2 separate regions of the Homo sapiens genome follow, and region 1 is linked to region 2. Evidence: promoter capture Hi-C in human tissues and cell types (Jung and others, 2019). All regions are on one chromosome and are shown on one strand. Each heading gives the region's core, a stretch centred on a gene start or on the middle of the fragment in contact. The rest is flanking DNA. Distances are from core to core; before and after follow the strand shown.

Evidence for each region. Contacts are between HindIII fragments. The study calls those that stand out against the background at their distance.
Region 1: a contact is called between a fragment that was not itself captured here and the fragment with the promoter of HES7 in region 2, in 1 of the 25 tissues and cell types used here (lymphoblastoid cells).

Annotation. Positions count from the first base shown.
Region 1 is chr17:8,947,469-8,952,170 of GRCh38, reverse strand. The region is part of intron 1 of PIK3R5 (phosphoinositide-3-kinase regulatory subunit 5); the gene reads left to right. Among named protein-coding and RNA genes, the nearest start is that of PIK3R5, 16 kb to the left of the region's middle. The HindIII fragment of the contact is 5,738 bases long and covers 1-4,369 here.
Region 2 is chr17:8,122,255-8,126,694 of GRCh38, reverse strand. HES7 (hes family bHLH transcription factor 7) reads left to right here and starts at 2,589. Exons shown (of 4, transcript NM_001165967.2): 1 at 2,589-2,652; 2 at 3,569-3,664; 3 at 4,265-4,352. The coding sequence starts at 2,611. TRG-GCC2-6 (tRNA-Gly (anticodon GCC) 2-6) reads right to left here and starts at 949; the gene lies at 879-949. RefSeq lists silencers at 1-180, 861-910, 1,021-1,070 and enhancers at 261-320, 133-934, 2,211-2,731. The HindIII fragment of the contact is 8,809 bases long and covers 1-4,440 here.

The sequences.
Region 1 (4,702 bases), core at 251-2,750, 830 kb before region 2:
TAAGTGATCCAGACTTCACATGACAGCTTTATAGGTTGGGAACCAAGGTTCCTTTTGTGTCATTGCTCTGCCTTCTTCAACATGTAGCTCTCATCTCATGGTCCATAATGGCTGCTCTAGCAATTGCCATCGCATCTGCATTCCAGCTAGCAAGAAGGGGAAAGGGGGAAGGGAAGTGCATGCCTCTTCCTTCTAAAAGCATGACTTGGAAATTGCACTTATCAATGTCTATTCATATTCCAGTAGCCAGAATGTAGTCATATGGTCATACTTAGTTACAAGAGTCTGGGAAACGTGATCTAAAATTCCTAAAAGTTATATCCCCATAGAAGGAAGGAGAATAGATATGGAAGAACAATTTTGAGTCTCATCCACATTTGAACTTTGTGAATCTTCACTGTTACATAGATGTTCTTTATCCCTTCTGTTGTGGAGTAAGCTTGCCTCCTAAGCCCTGCTGAAAACTATTAATAAAAAACAGCATGCTACACCAAAAGGTCAAACTAACCCAAATGTCCATTAATGGATAAATGGATAAACAAAATGTGTATATACATTCAATTGAATATTATTGATCCTTAAAAAGGAATGAGGTTCAAACACATGCTACGATATGCATGAACCTTGAAGACATTATGCTAAGTGAAGTAAGCCAGACACAAAAGGATAAATACTGTGTGATTCCACCCAAATGAGGTAGCTAGAGTAAACTCATAGAAACAGAAAGTAGATTAGAGGTTACCAGAGGCTGGGGGGAGAAGTGGCGGGGAGTTAGTGTTTATTGGGTATGGAGTTTCAGTTTAGGAAGACGAAAAAGTTCTGTGAATGGATGGTGGGGATGGTTGCACAACATTGTGAATGTACTTAATGTCACTGAACTGTATACTTAGAACTGTACGCACAAAACTGTACACACACAACCTACAGAATGGGAGAAAATATTTGCAGACTATGCATCTGTCAAAGGTCTAATATCCAGAGTCTATAAGGAACTTAAACAAATCAACAAGCCAAAACCAAATAACCCCATTTAAAAACAGGCAAAGGACATGAACAGACACTTCTCAAAAGAAGACGTACAAATGGTCAACACACATATCAAAGATAATGCTCATTATCACTGATTATGAGGGAAATGCAAATCAAAACCTTAACAAGATACCATCTCGCACCAGTCAGAATGGCCACTATTGAAAAGCCAAAAAACAACAGATGCTGGCGAGGCTGTGGAGAGAAGGGAACACTTACACATTGTTGGTGGGAGCGTAAATTAGTTCAACCACTATAGAAAGCAGTTTGGAGATTTCTCAAAGAACTTAAAACAGAGCCACCATTTGACCCAGTGATCTCATTACTGGGTATATTCCCAAAGGAAAATAGCTCATTATACCAACAAGACACATGTACTCACATGTGTTCATCACCCCACTATTCACAATAGCAAAGACATGGAATCAACCTAGGTGCCCATTGATGGTAGATTGGATAAAGAAAATGTTCTACATATAAACCATGAAATACTATGCAGCCGTAAAAAAGAATGAAGTCATGTCCTTTGCAGCAACATGGATGGAGCTGGAGGCCATAATCCTAAGCAAATTAATGTAGGAATGGAAAACCAAATACCATATGTTCTCTCTTACAAGTAGGAGCTAAACACTGAGCACAAGTAGACATAAACATGGGAGCAATAGACATTGTGGACTCTCAGTGGGGAGAGAGGGAAGGGTGAGGATTGAAAAACCTCCTATTGAGTACTGTGCTCACTACCTGGATGCAATATACCCATATAACAAACCTGCACCTGTATCTAACATAAAAGTTGGAATTAAAAAAATACTTACAATCGTAAATTTTATATTGCATATATTTTACCACAATCATGCTATAAAGGACCAAAGGCAGGGTTCTCTGGCATTTTAGGAGCAATGTCCCTACAGATGAAGCTACTCAACACCCTTTGGGTGAGGTTATGAAGCCAGTAATGAATCCATCTATCTGTGTTATCATTCGTATTTTTTACATCATCATGAAACTATATAGCAAGACTTGCTCAAATTCAGATATGCTGCTATTGTGGCTGTTCTTCTATTACCTCTTTAGTCAGTGAATCCATTGATCCCTATTGGCTGCTGGTGGTTCCTGGATCTTTCCCTTAGCATTCACAAACTGTCTTTTAATAATGTATAGAGAATGTTGCCAGGGGACTGGTGGACTCAGACATGTACTTTAAAAAATTCCACTTAAAAAAATTGTTTTTAAATTTTTATTTTCATAGATTTTTGGGGAACAGGTAGTATTTGGTTACGTGAGTAAGTTCTTTAGAGGTGACTTGTGAGATTTTGGTGCAGTGTACGTTGTACCTAATGTGTAGCCTTTTATCCCTCACCCACTTCCCACCTTTCCCCTGCTAAGTCCCCAAAATCCATTGTATCATTCTTATGCCTTTGCATCCGTATAGCTTAGCTCCCACTTATGAGTCAGAACATATGATGTTCGGTTTTCCATTCCTGAGTTACTTCACTTAGAATAATAGTGTCCAATCCTATTCAGGTTGCTGCAAATGCCATTACAGAATTCTCCCTTTCTTTTTCTGTTCCTCACGATGACGACAACATTTTCTAATCTGTCTCTGTCTTTCTCTGTCTCTGTCTCTTATACATCTTTCATTTTCTCTGATTCTTCAAAGATAATCGGTAGCAGCTCCCTTTCACAACCTCAAGTTTCTTTATGACTCTGAGATGCCTTTATTCTCTTCTGCAATCCTAAACTCATTTTCAGCAGCAAGCCTCCCTATTTGGCATCAGATGTTTCAATATCGGACCCTTTCCCCGCAATCTACCTTTCACCCTGTGGCTGGTACAACCTTCCAAATCCAAAAGCTGATGTGTCATTCACCAGCTCGAAATTTAGCAGTGGCTCCACATGGCGCTTGAGTAAACCCTTAAGCACTTAGCTTGGCAGATAAGGCTGTTCACAGTCTACCATGCCAGCCCATGCAGCATCATCTCCCAGCGTGCCCCATGTCATGCCTACCCTTCAGTAGGGCTGAACTGCCAGCATTTCCCTAAAGGAACCATGCTGTCTCCCGCCTCTTGCCTCAGTTTATTTTCCTACCATGAGATTCATGCCTGAATCTCACCCAGGGCAGCTCCTCCTTCCTGAAATGTTATCTCGGGAGTCACCTTTTTGGAGAAGCTTTGCTAATAGACATTCTCCCTCCTCCAAGTTCCTATGGCACCTGTCCCATATTAGCCTCCACTGGGACACCTAACCCACTGGGTAGTTTCTAGTTTGAGAGTTATTTTGGATGGTGCTTCTCTGAACTTCCTGTTGCATGTCCACTGGGCATGTAGCTAGGAGGCATATACCTGGGGCCTGGAGCATGCTGAAGTTGAGCTTTAGGGTCTGATAGAGCATCTTCCACTGGGTATGTTGTCGTACCAGCGTACATTCCCCGCAGCAGCCGTGAGGGTTTGCGTGGCTTCACATCCTCACAACAGTGCTTTTTTTTGCCTTTTTCATTTTGGCCCTTCTGCTGGGTGTGTAGTGGTATTGCCTTGTGGTGGGAATGTGCACTTCCCTTCTGACTAATGAAGCGGAGCACCTCTCCACATGTTTAGTGGCCATTTGGACACCCTCTTCTGTGAAGCGTCTATTCAAGCCTTTTGTCCAGTTTTCTACTGGGTTGTCTTTTTCATATTTTTCTGTTGCTCCTTCACATTGTGTAGTGACCTCTCAATCCTCCTCCTGGCCACGAGCTCTGTGAGATTTCTGGACCCCCAGTGCCTAGTGAAGTCCCTCAAATAGTAGACCCTCAATACATATTTTCTGCTGACTAAATAAAACATCTGTGATTCATGCTTTCCAGTGGGTTAACCATTCTCCTTACAATGGTAAAGCTTATCATGGTAAAGCTTTAGCTCCTACTTATAAGTGGAGGAAAAGATGGAGGCAACATAGGAGCGCATTTCGGCTTTCTCTCATGCGTCGGCCACTGTCTTGAGTTACTGGCCTGATTTCTTCTGGTTTGGACTCTGAAAATAGCTTTACGGGTCCTTTTTGATGTATGCTGCATTTTTCTTTTTCTTTTCTTTTCTTTTCTTTTTTTTTTTTTTTTTTTTTTTTAAGACGGAGTCTCGCTCTGTCGCCCAGGCTGGAGTGCAGTGGCTCAATCTTTGCTCACTGCAAGCTCCGCCTCCCGGGTTCACACCATTCTCTTGCTTCAGCCTCCCAAGTAGCTGGGACTACAGGCGCCCGCCACCACACCTGGCTAATTTTTTGTGTTTTTAGTAGAGATGGGATTTCACCGTGTTAGCCAGGATGGTCTGGATCTCCTGACCTTGTGATCCACCGGCCTCGGCCTCCCAAAGTGCTGGGATTACAGGCATGAGCCACCGCACCCAGCTGCTGTATTTTTCTTAAGGCTTGCTTTCATGATACGCTCATTCTCTCTCTTTCGTATCACCTTAACTTGGGGACCTTGATTCCATCTTGACGTATGCCCCAGGAAGTCACACTGGCTCCTTCACATTTCCGCCTCTTTTCTCCCTTGTGACACTCTCTGACTTGCCTTCAGAGCTTAATTTTCCATTTTCTTTCCCTGTTAAGCCACCCTCTCTGACTTCCAGCCTCTTGTTGTTGTTGTTGTTTTAATAGACTAGATACGCACGGAAACAATTCCCAGCCCCTTGGATAGCTG
Region 2 (4,440 bases), core at 1,340-3,839:
GCGCGCCGGAAGGGAGCGGACCGCGGGGAGCCCCGCCGCCCCGCCCAGCCGGCCCGCCCCGCCCCGCTCACAAGTGGTCGCCGCAGGTGGCTGTGCGCCCACCCGCCCGCCCTCGGGCCGACGCGTGCGGGATCAAAGCGGCCGGGAAGGGGCGGGGAGGGGAGGTGGCAGGAACCTGGAAGTGTCAGCGAGCTTCCCAGGGGATGGCAGGAGCGTGGGAGCGCAGAGTCCCGGGAGGCGACAGAGACTCGGAGAGACGACGAGATACCAGAGACCCGAGAGAGCCAGAGGCGGAGATGCAGACGCCAAGACGCGGAGAGACGCGGAATCAGAGATGCGGAGGGAGGAGACCACCAACACCAGAGAGACCCAGGGCAGAAGTCGCTGAAGATCTGGAAAAAACGTGAGAGATACAGAGATGGAGGAGCTAAGAGACACTCAGAGACCCGGAAAGGAGGCGAGACAAAAAAGGCATAGACCCATAGACTTAAGAAAAGAAAGCGTGCTTCAGAGAGAACGGAAAATAACAGAGGAAGAGAGGTGGAAAGAACAAGGGATGTAGAGTGGGGGGCGGGGAGACCTGGCCCTTCCCCCGCGGGGGGCCGAGATCCGAGCACTGTGTCCTTTCTCAGGGTCACGCCTGCGGAGGTGCGGGCCGGGGACGGAGGGAGGGGGGTGTGGAGGCTGCAGGACCCCCATGCTGGGAGGAGGGGAGTGCGAGGGCGTGCGGAATCGTTTAGGCCTGGGGCTGCAAACTCTGCTATAGTCAAAAGGTTAAGATTAATATTTGGTAGAAATATTTAAGTGAAGATGTTTCTTAGAAATGCTACCAAATATATTATCCTTTTTTTGGAGGGGAGAAAAGAAAACTGTACTCGTGCATTGGCCGGGAATCGAACCCGGGCCTCCCGCGTGGCAGGCGAGAATTCTACCACTGAACCACCAATGCGCGGCTTAAAGATTCTGCGGGGATCCTATCTGAGATTGTAAGAGGTTGAGGCGGACCCGGACAGGCAACGGTGTAGGCCAGGGAAGTGGTCCCGAATGGTTGCCGTGGGTGGAGCGCCAAGTCATCCTTCCTCTCGTCCGGATCCGGCCACCGGGCCATAAAGCCGCCCCATATGGCCAGGGGCGGCCCCACACCCGGGTGCGAACAGCCGGGGGCCCCCAGCCTCGCGTGCAGGTGAGAAAAATTCAGCCCGAGCCCAGGTTCCCAAGGAGGGGGGCGGCGGGGGCTGATGGGGACACACATTTGCGTTCCCATTTGGCTGAAGGACGGAGAGGTGGGATGTGCTGGGGGCCCTGATCCCAAATGGGAGCCCCCTCCTCAAGGTCTGTGCCTCTCCCGGCTCGGGCTATGATGGCAAGAAAGGCTTCGTGACAAAACCAAGGTGCGGAGGGCCGTTGGGAGGGCTTGAAGGAAACCCCATTGGTCTCTGATTTCACAGCTGTCTTCCGTCTCGGTCTGCAACCCTGTCTTTCCGTGTCTTTATCCCTGGCAACCTGGCTGTTCCCTTCAGTTTCTGATTTATCTTCTCAGACACTTTGTCCTGAAGCCCTCGAGTGGTCAGGCATCGTTCTGCGGAGGGTCATGCTCTTGGTTTGAGGTGGGTGTTGATCCCTTTTTTGTACCCCTTGCTTTCCCCTTAGTAAACTGCCTGCTCCCTGCTACCCTACAGTCACCAGGGGCCTCCAGAAGCAAGCAATGCGGGCACACTTGCGTGAGGTGTCCTATCAGCCACACTCCTGAATCTCCTATGACTAGTTTTGAATCAAATACTTGTACTGTAAGTGGAAAGACCTCTCCACTCATACCTATGTTTCAAAGACTTGCTCCCTCTGCCTTGAAGATCCTCCTCAGTCCAGCCATCCTTAAGGAGACCTTTTCCCGGAGCACCTACTTCACTGGGCTTCTGTAATAGCTACTTGGTGTCACATGGTCTTTTCCATTAGATCCTGCAGGGATAAGCTGGGTCTCTCCTGCGTATCTCACTATGACTCGCCCGAGCCTAGACAAGTGCCCTGTCCGCAGAGTGGGCGCGCAGATGTTCGCGGACTTGAATGTAACTGGCTTAGATAGAAGAGAGCGCCTCTCCAACCTCCCGGCAGAGCTTCGGTTGAGTCGGACAGATTCACCCAGCGCACTCGGGTTGCTCCCTGTCTCGACTAGGAAGCGAACTTCGGAGATGATGTATAAAATTCAGCCTGGGGGCTGAGAGGTGCTAACTTCTATTTCAGGGTTAGTGAGGGTACAGTAAGCCTCCCAGAAAGCTGCAATTCTGGAGGAACTCTGAATTTCATCCCCAAGCGAGCTCTGCCCCAATAGCCTCCTCCTTTCAGCTGGGTCCCGCCTCCTTATACAGCCTTACGGTCTGTAAACCAGCCAGTGCCCCCATTCACCCCTCACTTCCCGCACTCCCAGGCCAGTTTCTCTCCTTCCCCTCCCCCCTTCACTCCTCCTCTTTCCGGGAGCCTCGTGCCGGGTCCTAGAGGGGCAGAATCTGGATGTCGAAGGGGGCGGGGTCGGGTCCTATCCCTCCTACCCTTGGGCCGCGGAATATAAGGCTCCAGGCGAGCAGGGAACCGGTCCACACAGGGTCCGGAGGAGCAATGGTCACCCGGGATCGAGCTGAGAATAGGGACGGCCCCAAGGTGAGAGGCGGGAGGGGAGGGAGCAGAGGTCCCTGGTTTGGCTAGGGGACTGGGCCCCTGACGCCGTCGGTCTGGAGAGAGGCTGGGGACGCAGGGGTGGAAGGGGAGCGGTGCTCCAGAACTCCAGGAGCCAGAAGCTGGAGAGGAAGCTGCAAAATATGAAGAAGGGGACAGGGGTCAGAGCCAGACCTGAGTGGGCGGCGGGAACATAGGACTAGGGGCCTCGGTAATGGGTGTCGGCACCTTGTGGCCTGGGGAGGGGGCCGGTGTTGGAGTAAAATAAGCAATTAGAGGGCAGAGCCAAGGGAGGAGGGTGGGAACGAAAAGAGAAGAGGATAGGCACTTGCTCCACTCTGGCTGTGAGCCGGGCGGGGCTGGCCCAAGGCGGTCTTGTACAGAAGGTCCCGGGGCGTTGGTTCCAGAGGCCCCAGACTGGTGGAAGATTTTAGGAGAACCGTGGAGAAGGTGAAGGCCTGGAGGGTTTTGAGGGAAAAGAGGCGGCGCGGTCGCGCTAGGTATCTCCCTTTCTATACTCAGGGCCGCCAGGTCTGAGCCCGGCACCGTGCGGCGCACGTGCGTGCGCGCAGAGAGTCCCCAAAGTTCTCCACTGAGACAAAGAGAAACTGCACCAGACGGAGACGTAGAGAGAAAAGAGGAGGAGAGACACAGAGAGGGGAGGAGGGAGGACGAGACTGAGAGAGGAGAATGCGAAGATCCGGGGAGGCGAGCTACAGAAACTGATCTAGGGGCATTGGGAGGGGGAGCGGAGAGGGATCGAATGGGGCCGGCCCTAGGCAATCTGGGGTCTTGTGGCCGGGGTGGAAGCCGGGCTCTCCCAGCGGCGGGATCCGACGCCGGGGCGGCCGCACTGAGTCTCGGTCTGGTCGGCCCGCTCTCCTTTTCTCGCTGGTCGCAGATGCTCAAGCCGCTTGTGGAGAAGCGGCGCCGGGACCGCATCAACCGCAGCCTGGAAGAGCTGAGGCTGCTGCTGCTGGAGCGGACCCGGGACCAGGTCAGTCCCTCCGCTAGCCCTAGGTCCCCAAGCTTCCCGTTTCCGCGTCCCAGGGCTTCCCACTGGGGTGGGGACACAAGCTTGGTTGGCAACCCTGGCCCCAAGGCATCCTCACCCGAGTCCCGCCTTTGGAATTCCATCCCAGACCCCCACTCGCTCTCAGAACGCGATCTTCTTCGCCACCCCTCGGGTCTGTAAGTTTCACGCCTGGTTCTGTAAATTTCGCTCCCGGGGTCGGTCAGTTTCACCCTTTGGGTCTCTAAGTGTCCGGTTCCCCCTCCCCCACAGCCAGCCTCTGATGAGCCAGCCTCTGTTATGTCGGGTGGTTAATTTCATTCCCTGGGTTGCGGTTTCAAATCTCCTCCTCACGCGTTGGGCATTGGTTCCAACCCCTAGGATTGGACAGTTTCGTCTCAGGGTGGGCCAGGACTTTCCTTGGTCATCTCCACTCCGCATTTGGTCGCGCGTTCTGTGGGCAGTGCGCAAATGCGATCGGGGGCACCACCAGCTCCCGCATCCGTCCCTCCCTTCTTCCCCCTGCCACTTTCCCCCTTTCTCCCCACCCCTTTCTGTCTCTGCGCCCTCCCCTCCCGTCTGTAGAACCTCCGGAACCCGAAGCTGGAGAAAGCGGAGATATTGGAGTTCGCCGTGGGCTACTTGAGGGAGCGAAGCCGGGTGGAGCCCCCGGGTACAGCGCGGGGGTGGGGCAGCGGAGGGAGGGAGGGGGGACGCCAGGAGGCTCCGGCCGGGGCAGAGTGGGCGGGCCCTGCGGTGGA